Regions from separate parts of the Homo sapiens genome. Here all the other regions are linked to region 1. The links are contacts of gene promoters, found by promoter capture Hi-C in blood cells and fetal thymus (Javierre and others, 2016). All regions are on one chromosome and are shown on one strand. The core of a region is centred on a gene start or on the middle of the fragment in contact, and the rest is flanking DNA. Distances in the headings are between cores, read along the strand shown. Region 1 holds the start of TBC1D22B (TBC1 domain family member 22B). Region 2 overlaps C6orf89 (chromosome 6 open reading frame 89). Region 3 holds the start of CPNE5 (copine 5).

Region 1 (2,848 bases), core at 164-2,663:
CATCAGCCTTAACAAAGCCTCAGTACATCCCTCTTTGGGCTTAGTGTGCAGTGCTGGTCACTGCATCCTAAGAAAAAGAAGCGCCAGAGAAAGGCAAGTAAAATAATTAAAAGAATAGAGGGGCTTTTTTTCTCTGGGTTAAATGCCCATAAAGAAGATAAGATGCTTTTATAGCATGAAAGACTCAGAGGAAGTAAAAATAGCCCTTGTCATCCAATCCTATAATTCTTAAATTAGGGGACAAAAGAAGCTTGAAAATGGGAGTAATGAAGAAACCGTCGTTGGAGGACATATAAAAGAAGGTCCTTCTTTGGCTGGGGCCAGGGGTCAGGTCTTTAAGTATTCTCCAATATGTGGAAGTACATGTGGTAGCTGTAAATGGAGGGTGGGGGTGGGGGTGGGGGACACGCAGCCCACCTCAACAGTCCTTCGAAGGGACAAAAACCACTCTGGACTGGTGCCCGCCTTCCCTCTTTCCCCAAATCACCACGGAATACAACCACAGAAACTCAAAACCAGCAAAAAACGCTGACAAGACATTCAAAGGATTCAAAATGCTAATACTAAATCTCATTGTCTGGGAAAATTAGATTGAAAATAAATTCAAGGGTGCAAGATTTATAATAGATTAACAAGGGAAATTAAGGATGTTGGTGGGGCCGGGAGGAGATACATCCTTAACTTTGTGATTCACACGATGGAGCAATACTGTGTCCTTCAAAGAAATGGTATTTGGTAATCTGAGTTGGACAGCTATCATAAACCATTTCCTATATACACTGTTAGCATAGTCAGAAAGTGAGAGTTATGGATTGACATAGGGATTAGATCATTTGAATTTTTAACCCACAGCACAAGTCCTTCAATCGTTTTCAATAAACAGAGGGAGAGGGAGACTCTGATGAACCGTTGCTCACGTGTTGAACAGTTAGCAATCCCGGGCTATCGGGTCCCTGCTGACCTTCCTTCAGAAAAACGAATGGACATGTAAACGGAATGAGGAAAGGAGGGTAATAACCAGAGTGTCATTGAATTGAGAGATGTTAAAAATGGGCCACAACCAACACATGGGCCCTTACTTTTAGGTGAAAGATTCCTATATATAAATACATAGTATGTTCTCTCTTGCCAAGAAATATTAGACTAAGGAACTTCATTCCTCACGAAGAAGATAATCCCCTCTTCCTTCCCATAGGTCCCTTACCTTACCTGCTTCTTCCCTCTCGCGGGTAGGAACTTTGAGCCCCGCCTCTCGGCTCGTCCAAGCTCCGCCTTCCCCGTCCACCTGTGTGCCCAGCCCCTGACGTTACCGGTCGGCTTCAGCGGCCTGCAGGATTCCGGCTCCCAATTGGTCGGCCCGTCCACGGCTTGCGCAGCTCACCAATGGCAGCGGTGCTGGGTGGAGGGGTGCCCACATCCAAGATGGCGTCCCCAGGAGCTGGGAGCGGGTGACCGGCGGCGGGGAAGCGGCCTGGGTTGGCCCTCAGATTGCGGGGTCTGGGGGCATCTCGCCGGGCAAACCCTTGGCCCGCCTACAAGGACTTCCCCCGGCCAGAGCAATGGCCGCTGAGAACAGCAAGCAGTTTTGGAAGAGGAGCGCTAAGCTGCCGGGGAGGTGAGCCCAGGACGCTGAGAGGGATAGGGGATTGGACCAAACCCTTCCAGATCCTAATCCCTGAATCCCGCGGGCCTGGGGCGCCACAGAGGCCAGAAGACTGGTTTGGGGAAGCTGGGACTGCCTGGTGGCGGCAGGGCAGCTGTCAGGCAGCGAAGCGAACAGCGAGCTTTGGGGACGGCTGGATGTGGGTGTAGACCGGGGTCTGGGGGCGGAGGTTTCAGGAGGGGTGACCTCAGCGGGAAGGTGGCCGAAGATTGGGCGTAAAGGGGAGTGGAGTTGGGTGAATAGTCAGTGTCGGCCCTGGTCTCGGAAGTTCCTCCCCAGAGCTGCTTCCCACTCTAATTAGGACTCCCTCTCAGGGGTCTCCACCACGCACAGGTGGTTGGTCGCTCGAGGATGGCCCCTTCCCTTGATCCCTGAGGTCGGCACTTACCCGAAGGATTCCGGTGGGAGTTTGGGGCCGCCTGCCGAGAGGGTTAGGCAGGAAAAGTGAGGACGATTCTCAACCCTGACCTTACTTTATCTTGAGTTGGCCCTTTCCCACTAGGAATTATTACAAGACGACCACAGAATCAGGGTTATTCCTTTGGCATTTTCTAAGGATTTGTCCAACCCCAAGTGACTTCTTCCTCCCCTGCATTGTAATGCACTTCTTGTGCAAATGCACTAAATTCGTTCATTCTTCAGTTGTTTAACTGGAGAGCAGACCCCCTAAGACTACCCCCACCCTCTTTTCGGTGTATGTTGAGACTTTTGGCAAATTATCCATCCATCAATCTACTGTTGGTTTACTGTTTCAGTTTATTTTGGGCAAAGTCCTGAGAAGTATAAGGAAGAGTGTGTATTTCAGTCGTAAATTTAAGATTTCTGCCAGCTACAGTCTACTTGGTGATGAAATTCATGTTTGGTTGTGTCCCCTGTGCTACCTTTTCTAATGGATTCAGGTTTTTTCCTTCTGGGATAATCTTTTGAACTCGTGACTTTTTTTTTTTAAGCGAGAGAGAGATGAGGGTCAGTAGTGGCTAGGTAAGAGCCTTAATTTTTTTTTTTTTTTTAAATGAAATAGAGACAAGGTCTGACTGTGTTGCCAGGGCTGGTCTCTGACTCCTGGCCTCAAGTGATCCTCTTGCCTTGGCCTCCCAAAGTGTTGGGATTACAGGCGTTAGCCACCATGCCCCACCAAGAGTCTTATTTTATTAAGGATTCTAGTAGACATATGGAGAATAGGGT
Region 2 (2,950 bases), core at 163-2,662, 350 kb before region 1:
CAAGCTTCTGACCCTTTAGAATTTTCCCGACCTGGTGTTGTCTTAGACATTCAGCCCAGTTCATCCTCCCTAGTCTGCACCCTGACATTCAGCCCAGTTCATCCTCCCTAGTCTGCACCCTTATGGATAATATTTGACTGACTTAATCCTTCCTCTTACTGACCCAGAGTTTTCTCTTTACATTCACATTCTTACTGCTTTTCTCCCCTCCTGGCTTCATATCTTTATAGTCACTTTACTCCTGCCGGCCATCCCCTTGGTTTTTACCATTTCCATGGAATCATTGAGTCTTAAAGCCAGAAAAGAATTTTAGAGTTAATCTAGTACATACCCCATTTTATAAAAGAGGTAACTGAGGCCAGGAGAGGTAAAGGAGCTTGCTTACCCAGCTAAAAGTGGCAAAATCACACTTGAACCCTAGTTTCTTAACTCCCTCTAGCATTCTGTCCAAGATATCACACTTACAGCCTGCCATCTCTGCCCTCAGTCAAGCCAGGCGCTAGCATGTTCAGCCAATTATTTTTTTTACTTTGGTCATTTTCTGGCCAACTTAAAAATAACATATTCATTTCTACTGAGGAAGCCTGGGATAGTTCTCACATACAGTGAAAAGGCACACATTTGGAACTCGATGCATCCCGTAACCTTCAAAGGAAGGATGAAGTAGATCCAGCAACATCAAGAAGTTTTGGAAATAGCAAATCATTTATTGGCCTCAAACTAAGAATCTAGTAAGACTTAGAGAGTCCAGATCTGTGCTCAAAGATGAACTGCTTAGACCGCAAGGAAAACCTTCCTCTTTTATTTGCAAAATAAGCTTACCTTCTGTGATAATAACAGCTCTGTCAAGCACTTACTGTATACCAGGTACTGTGCCGTGCAGTTTATTTCTCAGTCTTCACAGCAGTCACATAAGGTAGATACTGTTTTTATGTTCATTTCAAAGATGAGGAAACTGATGTGCAAGGGGATTGACTGACTTATCTGAAGTCTCACATTTATTTATTTTTAATTTTTTCTTTTGCTGTGTTTTTGATAATAAATTTTCACATTTAGAAACAAATTTTTGTACAAGTGAGAACTCATGAAAATAGACTTTCTCTGTGGTTTGGAGTGGTTCAAATGCATTGCTTCCTGGAGGCAAGGCTGTTGGTGAAATGATTTCTTGGGCTCTTTCCCTCTACGGTGTGTGAAAATGGCTCTGGGCATGGTGCCACACATGCAGGGACCTGGCAGAAGCCTCCTTCATTGTCAAGGCTTCACCCCTGCCTCATGCCCGGGGTACTAGAAGAGGTGCTATGCACAAACAAGCTTCTGGAGAGCAGCCTGATTAAATATTGAGCACACACTAGTGAAAGTCATGGGAACTTTGTCATGGGCTTTGCAGGGTTTTCTTGGCTATATTTATAATGCAAGAAATGATGAAGTTATATTTATTTAATCTTTATTTTGAGGTTTCTGTGAATCCAGATTGCTCATTTGATTTTTCTCCCCATGGACTTAATTCTATTGTTAAAGCTTCTGAAAAATCAGCCTTCCTGCCTGCCTTCCTGCCTTCCTCCCTCCTTCTTTTCCTCCTTCCATCCCTTCCTCCCTCTCCCCAACTTCATTCACTCATTCAGTAAATGTTTATTGAGACCCTGCTATATATGCCAGGCACTGTTCTCAACAAAGCAGTGAACAAAACAGACAAAACCACTGCTCTTGTAGAGCTAGTATTGGCTTTGTTCTTTTCTTTCTTCCCTATCCTTTTTATCCAGAGGGAGTTTTTTGTCCTGGAAAGAAATCTTTTGTTTTGTTTTGTTTTGTTTTGTTTTGTTTTGTTTTTGCCAGGTAAATAATCTATGTAACAGTACTCTCCCCACTCAGAATTCCAGGATATGTTATGGTTGTCTACAGAGAACCAGCCTAAGTGAGTTTTCTTGTAAATAACTCTCAGGCACCAGGAAGCTCCCTGATGGGTGAGACGCTGGCCCATCCATTTTTCTGCCCAGTGCCCAACTTGTAAAGAAGGGTGGATAGTTATGGTCTCTGCACGTTGACTTCAAGGCTGTGTTTTGTCTGAGAGACTGTTTTTGACATCTCCAACAGTGAAATCATTCCAAATCATAGTGAAAACTTGAAATACAAGTTATAAGCTTTATTGAACTTTTATATGTAGGATTTCTCTTCTCTGTCATACCTTTAAAAAATGTTTAAAATATCTGGTATGAGGGATATCTGGAGTAAAGAAGCCTTAGAAATTAAAAGTAGGAAGTTGCTATATAATTTACGCTGACTTTTCTGTCTGGTGCTTCAGGAAAAGTGGTTAGAAACAGGAGGGCTGGAAAGAAGTGAGATGCAGCATATTAGGTAGTCAAAAGCCGTAAACTAGGGTGGCATGGGCTCGGCTGGCTGTGTGCTGTTGGCTGTTTCCCAGGATGGAATTTTGTTCACTTTGTGGCATGATGGCTCCAGCCAGTTGTATAGAGAACACGTCAGACAAAACCTTTTCAGATGGACAGAGGCCAAGCTGGAGTCTGGCCACATCTCTTTCTGTTGTCAGGGACTCTGTGGGGAGAGGAAGAGGAGCCTGCACCCTACCTCCACCCCTAGTTCACCGTTTGCCCGTTCCTCTCTCTAAGCTTATGCTTTATCCACCTTGGTGATCTCAGGCTACAGAGAAATCAAAAGTAGTTCTTTCTTTTAAAGTTTGGGCTCCCTTAGTTCAGGTGGATGGCATAGGCTACCCCATTCCAGTGATCCTTTTTTCTTGTTACTTCCCTTCCTTCTTTGCGGGCCACCAGCCTGGCCACCTCTGCTCCTGTCAGATACCTCTCTGGGGCCAGCCTTCTGAGATGATTTACCTCTACACTTCAGCATTGAATTCTCAGCTTCAGTTTTCATGATCTCCAAGGACATTTTGACTTGGAAAGTACATAAAATACATGCATACAAAGACAGTAAGAGG
Region 3 (2,859 bases), core at 339-2,838, 420 kb before region 1:
AGGAGAAGGGTGGGGAGGCCGTGCTGCTTTTGATGGCTGAGGAGGTGAGACTGGAGCTAATGGGCCATCAGGAATCTCCCAGCAGAGTAATGACAAGATGCAAATGGCGTTGGGAGATGATCCTGACGGCATGGTGTATGGGACCTGGGAGCTATCACAGGAGCCCCCAGAGGGCCTGGCTTAGGGGGGAAGCTACGTTCAACCAGACTAGCCTTCACTGCCACTTATCCCCAAGTCTTCAAGAGAAAGTCACACTGAGTCCTTCCCTCCTTCACGCCCCTGCCCAGACTCTCCAGCTCTACCTACACCTCATCAATGCCACAACTTTGTAATACAGGACTGGGGGGCAACAAGGTTACCTCTCATGGAGGGTCTGACCAAGGAGCAACCTGGAAGAGGATGAGATGGGTGATTTCGAACAAGGGCACAGCCAGGGCTCCAGAAATGCTGTCGGTGATCTGGGGCAGGGGGCATGGCCTCTGTGGGGGAACCTCAAAGTGGGTGATGCTTGCGTGGCAGCACATGATCCTAGGCCAGCCACAGAGAGACTGAACTAGGGAAAAATCCCCCTTTGCCACCCATACCCTCTTACTGCCAGGGGCAGCCTTCCCCTAGCTAGGAGAACCTGGGGTCGACCCAGCTCTTAGACAGAGAAGTTACCCCCAAACCCTGTGTGACATGAGTGAAGATTTGGGCGTGGTAGCCCACAAAAATATTCCCCCTCCTCCTCTGTTGGACTCTACAGTTTCACAATCAGTGTTCTATTCCTTTGGCTTAAGATTTTTGACCCAAGTTATTTTTTTAATGGTGCCACTTTAAGTTGTTATCATGTATCCACACCTTAGTATGAATGAGTCAATCTGATCCTTTTCCAGGAGTCGATTTCGTTGTTGATAGAGATGAAGGAAGGCTTTAAAATCCTAGAGTCTAGGACAGTGGGGTGGGGGAGACTGGTGAGGGGAGGATCAGGATGCTGGGGCAAAGAAGGGGCAAAGAGAGAAGAGAGGAGGGCACAGAAGGGAGAGGGTGGACGAGCCTGGGAGGGATGGGGGCAAATCACTCACTTCGTGATTTGGGGATGGGGTGATCAGAGATAGCCTGAGCAGAGACCGTAGTACAGCCTTTTACCAACTCCCTCTCCCCACTTGGGTGCCTGGACCCCCTGTTCCTGTGTCTTCATATCTCCTCGATGCAACAGCCTGGAGCGCAAACTTTCTGGGATATGACCCCAGCCTGGCTTCCTATTCTGCCGTCGCCACCCGCAGCTGGACAGGACAGGGGCTCTTGGCAGATCGGCAGGGGCGCAGTCCTGGAGACCAGGACACTCTGGGAAGGGGGCGCGCGGAGGTTTAGGATCGAAGCGGCAGGGGCCGCGGGGCTCTGCGTCCAGGGCCGGGGCAAGGGGACCCGGCCAGCGGGAGGCTCACCTGCAGGACACGGTGATCTCCACCTTGGTGGCCGGGATGCTGCCCGCCAAGGAGTCGAACTCGCTCAGCGACGCCATGTCCTCAGGCTGCTCCATCGCCCACCGCACCCCCCACCCCAAATTAGTCAATCCCTGCGCGATTCACGCCTCCTCCGGAGCGACTGGAGCCCTGGGCTCTCCCCCAACTCCAGAGCCTGGGCTGGGCGGCAAGGGGAGGAGAGAGGAGCGCGAAGAGGGGGCGTGGGAAGTGAGAGAGGGAAGAGGGCGGAGGGAGCGGGGGCCGCGGATCGAGGAGGGGGCTCGGGTGACGCCGCGAGGAGGCTAGGGGCCCAGTGGGGAAGGGCAAGGAGCCCAGGGAGCGGGGGCACAGCGGGGAAGGCAGAGAGGGGCGCGGGGAGAGGGGCTCGGGGAGAGGGCACCGGGAGGGAAACGCGGAGTCGTGGAGAGGGGCACCAGGAGAGGGACGCGCGTCTGTGGGCAGAGGTAGAGGGGATGCAGAAGACAGGGAGAGGGGCGTGAGGAGCGGGAGGCGCCGGATGGGGCGCTGGCGGCGGGGGTGGCGGGGCGCCGGCAGCGCGGAGCCCGAGCGCCCGGGCTGCGCCGCCTCTCCCTGGGTCTTGGCGCCGGCGGCGACGGGGCTGAGACGCGGCTGCGAGCGCCACCTCCTCGGCTCGGGCTTCGGCTCCGGGGCGCCCGGGCTGCGGGAAAATCAAATCTGCCCGAAGCCGCAGCCTCCCGCCGCCCGGGAACGCCAGAGGGGGCGCCCGCAGGGGCCGGGGCGGGGCCGCGGGCGGGGTCTGCGCGCAGGGTGAGTGTGAGCGTGTGTGTGTGCGCGTGTGTGTGTGTGTGCGCGCGTGGCGGGCCGGGGGACGCGGTCCAGATGCTGGGGACGTGGCGGGTGACAGCAAGAGGTGGTCCTGGTCGCGCGCATCTTCATTTGCGCCCGCCCCCTCTCACCACCCCTATCTCCCATCAGGGGTCTCCATCCTGGGGGAGGGGGAGGGTTATGGGAACCAACGGGCGCCTTTTTGAGAAAGGTCTATGCAGGGTTGAGAGGGGGCATAAGTGGGAGGGAGGTGTGCAAAAAAGATCCCCTCCCAGGGGCTTGGGTGTGGAGGGTCTCTGCTGAGTGTGCGCCCTACTCGGGGGCGGGTCTCAGTTCAGAAACAGACCCTACATCTCCTTCTGGGGAGGTGTGTGGGGGCGACCCCAGTGCCAGGAGGGACTACCTCGGTTTCCCAGTGGCCCAGGTGGGGTCGGTGCATGGGCGCCTCCCCCATCCGTGGTTCCCGCCAGCCGCGGCCTCGCCAAGTCGGCTGCCGAAACCACGCGCCAGCGCCCTTCCACTCCCCCGCCCGTCGTGACCACACGACTGAGCCAGCCTCCAGGTCTAGAAGCTCCTGCCACCCAGTCTGGTGGCAACCAGACTGGGA

Evidence for each region. The method cuts DNA at HindIII sites, captures the fragments that hold promoters and counts their contacts. A CHiCAGO score of 5 or more calls a contact.
Region 2: a contact is called between a fragment that was not itself captured here and the fragment with the promoter of TBC1D22B in region 1, in 1 of 17 cell types (activated CD4 T cells). The highest score is 5.1, in activated CD4 T cells.
Region 3: a contact is called between the fragment with the promoter of CPNE5 here and the fragment with the promoter of TBC1D22B in region 1, in 1 of 17 cell types (total CD4 T cells). The highest score is 6.1, in total CD4 T cells.

What each region holds. Positions count from the first base shown.
Region 1 is chr6:37,256,359-37,259,206 of GRCh38, forward strand. It overlaps TBC1D22B (TBC1 domain family member 22B), which reads left to right and starts at 1,414. Exons shown (of 13, transcript NM_017772.4): 1 at 1,414-1,615. The coding sequence starts at 1,560. It overlaps TMEM217B (transmembrane protein 217B), which reads right to left and starts at 1,786. Exons shown (of 2, transcript NM_001395378.1): 1 at 1,210-1,786. TMEM217 (transmembrane protein 217) reads right to left here and starts at 1,786. Exons shown (of 3, transcript NM_001286401.2): 1 at 1,210-1,786. RefSeq lists a silencer at 1,245-1,374 and enhancers at 1,475-1,534, 1,635-1,694, 1,781-2,416. The HindIII fragment of the contact is 5,135 bases long and covers 249-2,848 here.
Region 2 is chr6:36,905,488-36,908,437 of GRCh38, forward strand. All of the region lies in intron 4 of C6orf89 (chromosome 6 open reading frame 89), which reads left to right. Among named protein-coding and RNA genes, the nearest start is that of C6orf89, 21 kb to the left of the region's middle. The HindIII fragment of the contact is 207 bases long and covers 1,310-1,516 here.
Region 3 is chr6:36,837,856-36,840,714 of GRCh38, forward strand. It overlaps CPNE5 (copine 5), which reads right to left and starts at 1,589. Exons shown (of 21, transcript NM_020939.2): 1 at 1,428-1,589. The coding sequence starts at 1,522. RefSeq lists a silencer at 2,053-2,262. The HindIII fragment of the contact is 11,867 bases long and covers 1-2,859 here.